Linked DNA regions of Homo sapiens: regions 1 and 3 are each linked to region 2. The links are contacts of gene promoters, found by promoter capture Hi-C in human tissues and cell types (Jung and others, 2019). All regions are on one chromosome and are shown on one strand. The core of a region is centred on a gene start or on the middle of the fragment in contact, and the rest is flanking DNA. Distances in the headings are between cores, read along the strand shown.

What was found. Contacts are between HindIII fragments. The study calls those that stand out against the background at their distance.
Region 1: a contact is called between a fragment that was not itself captured here and the fragment with the promoter of PAQR5 in region 2, in 1 of the 25 tissues and cell types used here (IMR-90 fibroblasts).
Region 3: a contact is called between a fragment that was not itself captured here and the fragment with the promoter of PAQR5 in region 2, in 2 of the 25 tissues and cell types used here (liver and spleen).

The regions. Positions count from the first base shown.
Region 1 is chr15:69,029,788-69,033,906 of GRCh38, reverse strand. SPESP1-NOX5 (SPESP1-NOX5 readthrough) reads right to left here. Exons shown (of 17, transcript NR_033672.2): 5 at 2,095-2,305; 6 at 630-864. It overlaps NOX5 (NADPH oxidase 5), which reads right to left. Exons shown (of 16, transcript NM_024505.4): 4 at 2,095-2,389; 5 at 630-864. Among named protein-coding and RNA genes, the nearest start is that of NOX5, 17 kb to the right of the region's middle. The HindIII fragment of the contact is 3,122 bases long and covers 963-4,084 here.
Region 2 is chr15:69,295,755-69,300,161 of GRCh38, reverse strand. PAQR5 (progestin and adipoQ receptor family member 5) reads right to left here and starts at 1,250. Exons shown (of 9, transcript NM_017705.4): 1 at 1,106-1,250. It overlaps PAQR5-DT (PAQR5 divergent transcript), which reads left to right and starts at 1,399. Exons shown (of 3, transcript NR_184010.1): 1 at 1,399-1,684. The HindIII fragment of the contact is 6,076 bases long and covers 1-4,407 here.
Region 3 is chr15:68,992,720-68,996,773 of GRCh38, reverse strand. The region is part of intron 2 of SPESP1-NOX5 (SPESP1-NOX5 readthrough); the gene reads right to left. Among named protein-coding and RNA genes, the nearest start is that of NOX5, 20 kb to the left of the region's middle. The HindIII fragment of the contact is 6,685 bases long and covers 1-4,054 here.

The DNA.
Region 1 (4,119 bases), core at 1,274-3,773, 270 kb after region 2:
GCCTGGCCAAAATGGTGAAACCCCATCTCTACTAAAAATATAAAAATTAGCTGGGCATGGTGGCGGTTGCCTGTAATTCCAGCTACGGGGAGGCTGAGGCAGGAGGATCGCTTGAACCCGGGAGGCAAAAGTTGCAGTGAGCTGAGATCGTGCCATTCCAGCTGGGCAACAAGAGCAAAATTCCGTCTCAAAAAAAAAAAAAAAAGAAAAAAAAGAAAGAAAAAAAAAAACACCTCTTAGAGGCCTCATCCATGAGCCAGAGAACCACATTCCAACTCCATGGTCTGGTATTCAAAGCCTCTTCTAGGGTTTCCTCTTGAAGGTGCTCCTGCACAGGGGTCCACTATAGGGGAGTTGTGAAGATCAAATGGAGCGTGCTCAGCACCGTGCCTGGTGCATAGTGCACAAAAATGCCAGTTATGTTATTATTTACTGGCTGTGTGACTGTGGACAAGCTACTGTCCCTCTCTGGGCGGCGTCCTCCAACTCTGAGCGTTGGCCCAGCTGATTTCTAAGGTGCCACCCTGCCCTGGCATTCCAGGTGTCCTCTGTGGGTCGCTCTGTCTAGGAGGAGCCCACCTCGGCTCCTAATTAACATTTTCAGAGCACCGTGTGCTGGCAGAGCCTACCGCGATGAAGCTGCAGTCGAAGTTGAGGCACTGGCCGCAGCCCTTGGCCACCATGACGCTGGCGCCGAGGTCCCGGTGCGCGCTGGCCGCCAGCCCGAAGAGCAGCACGTGGAGGCCTGCATAGGTGGCCAGGCAGAACAGCTGGCTGCGGTGGTTGTGCCAGTAGGCGCGGGTCAGCTGGCGCGGCCGGCGCGGGCGTGGGCGGGGGGCGGGGGCCGTCAGCCAGTGGGCAGCGCTGCGAGAGAGGCGGGTTCCGCTCAGAGGCGAGCGGTGGGGCGGGGACCACCTGTGTCTTAACTTAAAGACCCCCTTCAAGCTATGGCCGACCAAGTCTGGCAAGCAGGCCGGCTTTCTTCACACCAGGAAACAGAGAGGTCAAGTGGCTTGGTCACAGTCGCACAGCTCCGCGGAGCTGAAAGGGGACTCCGGTCTGCCTAATGCCACAACCACCGCTATTTTTATTACTTCTCTTTACTTTCCAATTTTAAAAGAAGCAGTCGAAAAGGATGGAAGAATCTGAAATATGTTTTGGTAAGTAAGCCCCAAGAAAGTTAATAGGCAGGTAGGTGCCCAGTGCAGTGGCTCACGTCTGTAATCCCAACACTTTGTGAACCCAAGGCGGGCGGATCACCTGAGGTCAGGAGTTCGAGACCAGCCTGGCCAAGATGGCGAAACCCCGTCTCTACTAAAAATACAAAAACTAGCTGGGCGTGGTGGCTGGCACCTATAATACCAGCTACTCGGGAGGATGAGTCAGGAGAATCGCTTGAACCCGGGAGGCGGAGGTTGCGGTGAGCCGAGATCATACCACTGCACCCCAGCCTGGGCGACAGAGTGAGACTCCGTCTCAGAAAAAAAAAAAAAAAAAGTTAATACACAGGAAGAATGAACTACAAAACCGGCTCTATTCAGAGCCTGGAGTCGGACAGACTTGGGTCTTGCTGTTACACTCTTATTTTCTCCACAGCACTTATTAATTTTGTGCTTCTCTAGTTTGTGTGTTTATTGGTGTAAATGACATGTCTCTTCGTCTGGAATGGAGCCCCAGCAGGGTGGAGACCTCATTCACTGCATTAATCAGAACAGTGCCTGCTGCATAGAAGCTGCTCAAACATTTATTGCATAAATACCTTTGTTAATTATTTGTGTGATCCTAGGCAACTTACTTCAGGCGAAGTAATTTCCTTTTGTAAAACGAGTATTGCTATAAAATGCACTGGTATATGCAAAAGTGCTCAGCACACAGTAGGTGCCTCAGACCTTGAGTTGATTCTGCAGAGACACTGCAGGAAGTGGAGGCAATGAAGACAGCTGCCCTGCAGTACACTCAAGAGTGGGCTAAACTGGGGAGGGGCGGGGCAGGGCGGGGTAGGGCAGAGTGGATCCGCGGTGAGTTCCTGCCACACTTCCGACCAGGAGTCTAACGCCGCCGTGGACAGTGCCAATGCCCGAGACCCGGCCGTACCTGATGGTCAGGTTCTCCATGACTCCGGGGAAGCGCTGCAGCTCGTCCCGGAGCTCCTCGAAGGTGATGGCCCCGTTGCCGTCCGCGTCGGCCGATTCGAAGAGCGCCAGCGTCAGCTGGTCCAGCTTCTCGTCAGGCAGCGAGATGGCGCTCTCGCGCAGACACGACTGCAGCACAGTGCGCAGCTCATCCGGGTCAATGGAGCCACTGCCTGTCCCGAGTGGGGATGAAGCCCAGTGCGGGCCTGCCCCAGCACCCCACTCTGTACCTGCAGACGCCCCCTGCCGTGCACACACTGCAAGAAGTGGTGGGCCTCTTCTGTTTACCCACCTCCAGCTTTCTGCCAGTCAGCTTTCCTTGGGGGTATAGACCATGCAACTGAAGGACCAAATGTCACCCTCAGCTCAGAAACCTTCCATGTTCCCGACTGCCTAGCTCAACAGCAATGGACACCTCCCCACGGGTGGAGAATCTTTGGCTTCAGTGGTTGCCTGTCTCCAGAATCGGTAACTCCCTAAGTACTACTCAACTTCCAAGACTATCTGCCCAGAAAATACACCTGCTTACTTAATCTATAAGGGGCGGTGTGCCCACAGCCTCAGTTATCCAAAGGCACACTGTATGTGGGTTAGCGCTGAGGGAGTGTGCCTTGTTGTTCAACTTGGAGCAAATGCTCTGTTTATCATGTTGTCTTGAGAGGGGCCACAGCTAGGCATTCCAGCCCAGCAGTGTGGCCTTATGTAAACATGGGTGGTTGAAAGTGATGGGATAAGGAAGCCAAAACTACCAACAGAGATGAGATTTTTCTGTATTTTATTCTTCCTGAGCAGCAGAGCCCGTGATTAATGATTTCTTGGCCTGCTTTGGATATGGACACACCCAGTGTGGCATCCTGCTCCTGCCCCTCCTTAACTGTGCAATAGTGGGCTCTAAGTCCTCTGGGGTAGTGGACCTCACTTTGCTCATCTCTAAAATGAGAGTAATCATTTCTCCCTCTCAGAACTAGCTCAAGGAAACTCGATAATGGTAAAACACCTAACGCAGTATCTGGGAGAAGGAAATTGCATATACATGGAAATTCTCATTGGTGTTGTGATCATCATTCCGGCCCAAATCACATTACGATGCAGAATCAATTAGAGTATATTATACCACTCTCCAGTCACACCGCCTGTTCTGCTTTCCTAGTCAACAGCCAAGATGACAGCAGGTTTCTGGACTCATCCAGAGGACCAGTCTCCCCCTGGCCCCTTCATGGCCTCTTCTATCTGCTTTAATCTCTCTGTTGGCCAATTTCAAATCCAGGGTCCTCCCTCACAATAATTCTCATGTGCACATTCTCCTTCCTTCTCCCTCTAACCTTCCATTCTACTGACTCTAAGAATATCCCATCCCTGGGTGAAGCCAGCTACCTGTTTTCCGCCCTCTGGCACCAGGGCAGCAAAATGAACATTGCTGAAGAAAAGCTTTTCAGAATGCAGGTCCATCCCTGCGAATCCCTTGCTCAACACACTTTGATGGCTCCCCGTCGCGCGTAAGTTAACTAATTTAACCTTCATCTCAACCCCATGAGTATGAAATATTATTATCATAATTCCTATTTGATAAATAAATTGAGGTACAGAGAAGTTAAGTAACTAGTCTAAGATCATATAATAAGTGATGGAACTGAGATTTGAACTTAGGTAGCTTGTGCTTAGAGTCTTAAATACTACACGATGCTGCATGATACATACAGTGGAGTATAATGCAGCCACTAAAAATGACACTATAAGTACAGTGAGTTACCACTTCACACCCATTAGGATGGCTATTATCAAAAAGCAGAATATAAGGCTGAGCACAGTGGCTCACGCCTGTAATCCCAGCACTTTGGGAGGCCAAGGCGGGTGGATCACTTGAGGCCAGGAGTTCGAGACGAGCCTGGCCAACATGGTGAAACCCTATCTCTATGAAAAATACAAAAATTAGTGGGCATGGTGGTAGGTGCCTGTAGTCCCAGCTACTCGGGAGACTGAGGCTGGA
Region 2 (4,407 bases), core at 1-2,500:
ACCTAGGGGGGTGGGGAGTGGGGTAAAAGAAACAAACCTCTGCTGAGTCAAGGGCACTGCAAGAATGCAGAAGCGACCATGCAGCTCTGGAAGGATGCGGTGGGAAACCCGCCACTCAGTGGTGGAGAAAAGCCCACCAGTTTCTCCAGCAAATGGCTGAGCTTTGTTGGGCCTCCTTGTCTTCTCATCTGCCCATGTGTTAATATCTACTCGCCATTGGTTTGTTAGGTTCAAATGAAATCAGGGATGTGTCCCTTTTTGGCTGCTAGCTCTTCTCAGATCCCCTGACCTCTCCCCATCTCTTCTCTATGGCTCTGCGTGGGAAGGGGCAGTTGTCACCCCCGACTCCCACTAAGCTGAGCCCTCCTCCCAACCTAAGCGGGAGGAAGCCGGTTCTGCTCACGGATAAGAGTTACCGGGCTCCTGAGTTCTTGTTCTGCTGGGCCGGGGTCCACCCCCTCTCCTGGGCTCATCCGACTAGGACTTGGGAAGTGCTAGGGGAGCCAGGAGATGCCCAGCTGGGGGCTGTGGCCGGGGGGAGGCCAATGACAGAGCAGGGGGAACTCCCTGTAGCTGGGCACCCACTTCAACAGGGCCGGGACGACCCCCGCAGGCAGTGGGCCGCCCCTCACCCACACGGTCCTGCTCAGCCCAGGCTCACATCTGGGCTCAGGAGGCGGGAAGCACAGGTGTAAAGAAATCGCCAACTGTGCAGCCCCAATCCAAGGGTTTTATTAAAGTGGGGGCGGCGGGAGGGGGGCGGTGGAGGAAGGATAAGCGGCGCAAACGCCCTGGAGAGTGAGAGAAAAGGTGCGAGAAGGCAACAGCTCCCCTCACCGCCCTCGATTGCAGCAGAGAGCCTTCTGCACGGCGGCGGCCGCCCCACCTTCACACCGGCCCCGCGTGCGGTGAAAGTGGCCGAGCCGCGCCGCCGCCGGATCAGGGCCGCCCCGGCACAAACTTTCCCAGACCCGCCCTCGGAGCGGCCACCCAGGCTCAACGGGCTCCACGGGCGCAGGGCGGCTGGGGCTGCCGCGGAGGGCGGGTGCGCGTGGACCGGGAGGTGGGGAGGCGGCGCGCGGCGGGGAGTCCCGCCCCGGGTTACCTGGGTTCCAAGGGTCTCGGGAGTCCAGTGGACAGGGCGCGGGGACAGCACAGGCAGGCCGGAGACCAGACACTCCTCCCGGGCTGCGGCGACCCCGGACTCGCGGGCCCTGCACCTGGCCCTGCGGGTCGCCGCGCCTACCCATGCCGGTCCCCGCCCGTCCCCTCCCGCGCGGGGCGGGGCGGCCCCGGGGGAGGAGCCGAGGGCCGTGGGCACCACCCCCTGAGCCAGGCCTGCGCCTCATCACGTGCCACCGACCCTGGGCTCTGTGACTTCCAAAGACTCGCCACCCCATTCCACAGCCTGAGGTGCCACCAAAGCCATAAGCCCAGGGGAGTCTCTCACACCCCATTCTCCTAGGGCCCATGTACCCCACGCCCACCTCCACCCCAGGAGCCGAAGGCCGGCAGGGAGCCTGGAGAGCCTCCTTGATGGGAGAACTGCGGAGCTTGCCCCTCGGAAAAGTGCATGGGGTGGAGAACAGGGAAGGAGAAAAAAACAACAACTGGGTACTCGCAGCCCCACCGCGGTGTCCGCTTCGCCGGTGGGAGAGGATCCTCGCCGCCCTGAATCCTTGAAGTGAGTTCCACCCCTGTCTCTTGGAGTGCTCAGGGTGGCGGGCCCTTTGCCAGCCCTCACCCTTTCCCCAGGGATCCTGTCCCAGGTCACAGGCTCCTAGACTGGAAGGCGCTGGGCCTGGACCTCTGCCACTCAGTGGACACAGCTATAAGAGATGAAGGGACACAGAGGACAAAGAAGAAACATTTGGCTTCAGGGAACCAGACTCTGTGTCTCCTCCCAGGTGCTGAAGGAACAGGTTGCAGCTACCTGGTGCCCCCACCCCGACCCTGCCAGAGAAAGGTTGGAACATCCACACCTGTGGACCGAAGTCCCCCACCAGGCTCTTTCCTCCCACCCTTCAGCCCCAGGCTCTCTGAGCTCCTGCTCCTCCCTGCCTTGCCTTGTTTGCTGAGGGCACACACAGTGGAGAGAGCACAGGACTGGGAGTCCAGAGACCTGGGCTCTAGTCTACTCTGTGACTCGGGTCAAGTCTCTGGCCCTTTGTGGGCCCAAGTTGCCCCATTTGCAGTGAATAGGTTGCAGTCAATTATCTCCGGCCATTTTTACGGATCCTGAACCGTGGTCTTGGGCACCTTGCTTTATTAGGCTTTTTGGTGGCTGTGCATCTTGTAAGGGTGTGTATGCATGTGCGTGTGTGTGTGCGTGCGACATGCGCTTGTCCTCTCAGACCCAAGTTCTTAAAGGGAAAGAGACTGGGGCCTACACAGAGGCAGGCATGTATATTCCACAGACCAGAGTTTGACAAGAATGACTGGACACAAGAGTGGAGCCCAGTCCCAGCTCTATGCTGAATTCAGAGTAGCCTTGGACAAGACCCTCACCATCTACAAAATGGAGATTAATAATCCCTGCTTTGCCTTTCCAAGGCTAGTCGGGGGACTCAGTGAGATATTAGATATGAAGCTCTTTGAAGGGGAATAGCACAGGGATGTGTGCTTTTGATGTCTGGGCCAGTGATGGGTTTGGGGGAAGAATAGGGTGTGAAGCATTCTCTGGGAGGCAAAGGCTGGCACTGGACTGATTGGCCACCCTGCCAAAGCTGCAGCATGCACAGCACAGGCAGGCACCCCACCACCAGCAGCCAAGGTGAGCAGAGATGCCTGGTGCCCCACCTGGATTCCTGCCTGCTGTAGGTATCTGTGTGTGCACCTTGAAGAAACTAAAGAGGGAAGATAAAGAGGCTCCCAACCTAAATGGAGGTGGTCAGTGGATTACTGATGAATCGATCTGCATATCTTGGCCAAAATCACCCTCCTCTGCTCTTAGGGAGTTTAAAGTCTAACTGAATGATTGAACATGAACCCTTTGGAGAATGATGTGGAGCCAGGAGAGGGGATTGTGGATGGTGAGCACACAGGATGATCAGAGGAGGGGGAAGGGCAGGGAGGGGCCGGGGAGGGGGGTACTTAGACCACATGGAGATGCATTTAGAGTATTGTGTTCAACACTCCTATTTCATAGTGATGAAATGGAGGCCCAGAGAGGGAAAGTGACCTGCCCAAGGTCACACAGTCACAAGAAGTCAGTAGCAGAGCTAGAACTTGGACCCAGGACTTCAGGAATCTATGCTGGATTTGAGCCTCCTGTGCAGCCGAGGGAGACCTGAAGTGTGGGAAGGACTGGGATACGTACCAGTGGGCAGGAAGAAAGAGTGAGGCAAAGTGCAGAGGTGGGAACTTTGTACAGCAAGGGAAAGGAGCTGGAATCACAGGCAGGATCTGGAAGGAGGGAGCTGCCCAGACCTGGAAAGCCAGGCTGAGCACTGCAGACCACAGAGGGTTTCGAGCTGACACCAGTTGGGAAGATACAGGCGTGCGAGGGGCACACGCCCAAATGACCCAGTGAGACAGCAGGTGACATGACAGCAAGGCAGCAAGGAGACGGGGAAGAGCAGCTCCAGGAGTCAGGCAACCTCCAATCAAATGGCCTTGAGCAAGTTGTCTCTCTTCTCTGACCCTCAGTTTCTTTTTTGTGGAGTGAGAGATAATCATCTTTTTTTCCTTTCAGGGTTATTGTAGTGACCACAGAATGCATTTGGAAGTGCTCTGTAAACTGCAGAGTGCTAAGTAAATTTAATATTTGGAGTTGTGTTTTATTTTCCAAAGGGCTCAGTAAACATTTGTGGAACTGACTGATATTGGATTGGACACTCTCCTCATGGCAATGGGCAGAGGGACCACAAACGGAGGGGGGCAGGGATTGGGGTGGTCAGAGGGAGTCCTGGCAAGGGTGTGAAGGAAGGAGAGCTTCAGTCTTAAATGTGAGTCTCCCTCTGACATCTTTACAACATAACTCAAAAAGCCTTTTTGGGGGGAAACAGTCCTACCCCAATCCATGTGACTCAAAATGCCCCATCTCTTCCTTTGCCTGTGTGTTCAAGGGGCGCCATATCAGATGTCACTATTCTATGTGTTCTTCACCCATCCCCACTGGCCATCTACTCCTCAGGCACTCACCAGCTCCTCCTGGGTGGGCCCAGACGTTATATTTGTTTACAAGGCCTTGTTGGATAGCAGAAACGGTACTACAGAAACCATCGCCCTTAGTTAATATGGCAAGATTCAGGTCCCTCACATGTGTTCTCAGCCCCCTGGCACCCAACTCTACCCCAATCCATAAGTCCGCTCACGCCTCCCCTCTCCTTGGCAATGGAGTCACCAGGGCAGGGCTTACTGCCCCACTTGGCAGATGAGAAAACGGAGGCTAGGAGAGAGGCGCTG
Region 3 (4,054 bases), core at 250-2,749, 300 kb after region 2:
CTGGGTTTAAGTGATTCTCCTGCCTCAGCCTCCCGAGTAGCTGGGCTTACAAGCATGTGCCACCACACCCAGCTAATTTTTGTATTATTAGTAAAGACGGGGTTTCACCATGTTGGTCAGGCTGGTCTTGAACTCCTGACCTCAGGTGATTCACCCGCCTCGGCTTCCCAAAGTGCCGGGATTACAGGCGTGAGCCACCATGCCCAGCCTACTGTACTTTTACTCTATCAGGATATACCTGAATTGAAGAAGAGGAACTCATTGAAAATGTAATGTATAGTAATAACTCACTGAGAAATTAATTTATGTCATTTATTGCTGCTGTCGGCTCACAAGGAAAGAAAAAAAGCTATCCAGAGCTTCACCTATTGGAGGGTGGCATGATTTTCTTCCTAGAGGCAACAAGGATTCTCCAACCCCCTAAGGAGCAATAGACAATTCTTTCTGTTTCTGGGTCTGAGAGAGGAAGCTGAGTAGGCATGGAGGGGCCCTGGTGTGAGAATGGCCAGCCCTGAAGACAACCTCTAAACAAGACTGTGTTTAGAGACCACTGGAGGCAGTTAAGCCAGATTATCCCAGAGGGAAATGAGAATAAAGGCAGTACTGCAAGGTAGAGGGTGAAGATGTTTTTAGGTAAAGAACATTTGTTTTTCCTAAGTGTATAGCACAGAGTGCTGAACGTATTTTCTTCCTAAAGTAACACCGTAGTGTGACACCAACACACTGGCACTGCGAGAGACATTATCTCAACATTTGGGACCCAGGTTGGTGGTGGGATGCTGCATACAGAGCTGGGAAGCCTAGGCCTGCATCTTGCGATCACTAGGAGCAACAGCTGTCATGGCGACCAGAAGCTGCAAGACCCCCTTTCCAGATGGCTAAGTCCCTAGGGGGGGCCTTTGACAAACCCAGGAGAATTCAAGGATATGATGATACAAGACTTCTGGTCAGTCTTGCTTAAAGAGGGTCCAAACAGGATTTAATCTTCTTTTAATAAAAATAAGTCACGCACATAGTGAAAACTGAAACAGTGAGAGAGTAAACAAGGAAAAGAGGGTCTCCCTCCCTCTTCAGGCCCTGGTCTCGCTTTGCAGAGGTAACACCATTAGCAGGGTTTGTTTTTTTTTTATGTACAGATACATGATATGTACAATTATAAAGCTGCCTAAACACACACACACACACACACACACACACACAGGAGTACACTGTGTTGCCCTTAGCCTTTCACCGCCTACTCTGAGGATCATTCTGTATCAGCTTACTCAGCACCAACACATTCTTTTTTAATGGTGGAAAGGATCCCATTTCTCGTCCCCATTCAGTGGAACTTAGACATCCTAGAAACACTACATCAACTGCACCCCAAGTGTCATGGTATAATTTCATTCCTATATTTATACAGGCATGGAAAAAGATCTGAGAGCTGGCCGAGGCTAGAGAGAGATTAATGTCCATGGTACAAAAGGAAAGGGCACTGGAAGGATGAATGTCCAGAGAATAATAATAAAGAGAATGGCCAGGGCCGTGGTATGGGAAAGCCACCAGCCGAGGGCTACCGCACCCAGGAGAAACCCGACACTGACCTGATTGGGTTGGCAGGGGCTGAAGGATATGAGGACTAGGACAGACTGGGCTCCTTCTCATTGGGCCTCCAGGAGCCCATGGTCACATTAGAAGTTGGAGGCCAGCTGATGGACTTTATGGTAGACACCGAGGCTGAACACTCAGTAGTAACCTGACCTATAGGGCCACTATCCAAGAACTGTGCAACTACTGTAGGAGCCACCAGAGTCTCAGAGAAAGGGCCTTTCTGTCAGTCAAGGATGTGCATGATAGTAGGAGAAGAAGTTTAGCATGACTTCCTATACCTCCCAAACTGCCCAGTTCTCTTGCTAGAAAGAGACCTCCTCCAAAAACTGCAAGCACAGATTACATATGGGCCACAAGGGAATGTAACTTTAAACCTAGCTCACCTGGAGACTATGGTATTAACCCTTACTGTCCCACAGGCTGAGGAATGGAGGCTATATGCAAAAAGACTCTGGAACCAGGGGTAAATGAAATGCATGGGGTGCTTACTAAAATTCCTGGAGTTTGGGCTGAAAGTAATCCACTTGGACTGGCTGTAAATCAGGCACCAGTTGTGGTAGAGTTAAAACCGGGAGCAACTCCAGTTCAGGTTCACCAATACCCACTACTCCCCGATGCCATACGGGGTGTCCACAAGCACTTAGAGTGGCTTCATAAGCATGGAATCATAGTCAAATGTGAGTGATCCTGGAACACCCCTCTCTTGCCAGTGCAGAAGGCGTCTGGAGAATATAGGCCAGTGCAGGACTTGCATGCTGTAAACCAGGCCAAAGTGACCATGCACCCAGTGGTGCCAAACCTGTATTCTTTAATGGGACATATTCTGGCAAGTGCTGCCTGGTTTACAGTCCTAGACTTAAAAGATGCATTTTTCTGTCTCTGGCTGGCACCGATTAGTCAGCCTATTTTTGCTTTTCAATGAGGTGAATCACAGTACATTTGGACAAGACTCCCACAGGAATTTAAAAACTCTCCTACAATCTTTGAAGAGGCACTGGCCTCAGACCTTAAAGCCTACACTGCACCAAATAGTGACTGTGTCTTGCTTCACTACATAGATGACCTTCTTCTAGCAGCCCCAACACGAGAGGACTGCTTCCAAGGAACCCAAGACCTCCTGCACCTGCTGTGGAAGGAAGGATATAAAATGTCAGGGAAAAGGCTCAAATTTGCTTTGAAAGTGTCCAGTATTTAGGCTTCTATATAAGCGAAGGGGAAAGATGGCTTGGTAGTGAACAAAAGCAGGCTGTTTGGACACTTTCCACTCCAATCACCTGGTGACAAATAAGAGAATTCCTAGGGGCAGCAGGGTTCTGCCATATCTGCCTCCCAAATTTCTCGCTCATGGCTAAGCCATTATATGAAGCCACAAAGTGGGGAGAGAAGGAACCCCTCCTCTTGGAGGCCAACCAGGAGAAGGCCTTTAAAGAAATCAAAGAAGCCTTAACTCAGGCCCTGGGCAGGGGGCTATCAGTACATGTAGGTGTTCATTTGCACCTTTTCAGGATGGGTTGAGGTTTTCCCCACCAGAACACAGAAAGCACAAGAAGTGACTAAGGTGTTGTTAAAAGACATTATTCTTAGATTTGGACTACTCCTGACTCTGGGGTCAGACAGTGGACCAGCATTTGTAGCTGAAATAGTTCAAGACTTAACTCAACTATTAAAAATAAAACAGAAGCTACACACAGCCTACCGGCTGCAGAGCTCAGGAAAAGTGGAGCGCATGAACCAGACACTCAAGCAGCTGCTGAAGAAATTTTGTCTGGAGACTCTTCCGCGATGGGATCAGGTCTTGCCAGTGGTCCTCCTCGGAGTCAGGTGTACCCCCACAAAACAAACTGGGTATTCACCCTATAAGGTCTTGTTCCGCCAGCCACCCCCAATTATAAGTCAGGTTAAAGGTGATCTCTGTGAGCTAGGAGAATTAACTTTAAGGAGGCAAATGCAGGCTTTAGGGATGGCCATGCAGAAAGTGCATGGCTGGGTGTGGGAAAGAATGCCTATAAGTCTGACAGACCCAGTACACCCTTTCAAACCTGGGGACTTTGTTTTGGTTAAGAAATGGAATCCAACCACTCTGGGACCCATATGCGATGGGCCCCATACTGTAATCTTGTCCACTCCCACTGCTGTTAAAGTTGCAGGAATCGTGCCTTAGATCCACCACAGTTGGCTGAAACTGGCATCCCAGGACCAGTGGACCTGCCAGCAGGACCCAGACCATCTGACCAGGCTGATCCTGTGACAAGACCAAGTTGCCACTGAGAACAACAACAGCCCTGCTCTGGTCACTCCGAAAGCTGACCAGTCTACACACGGCGGAAACTTGAGGAAACAGCAAACCCTGCTCTAGTCACCCCAGAAGCTGACTAGTCTACACACGGCTGAAGCTTGAGGAGTCATCATCAAATGAGTAAATGTGGCTGGAAATCTTAGGCCCAATAATCTTTCCTATATT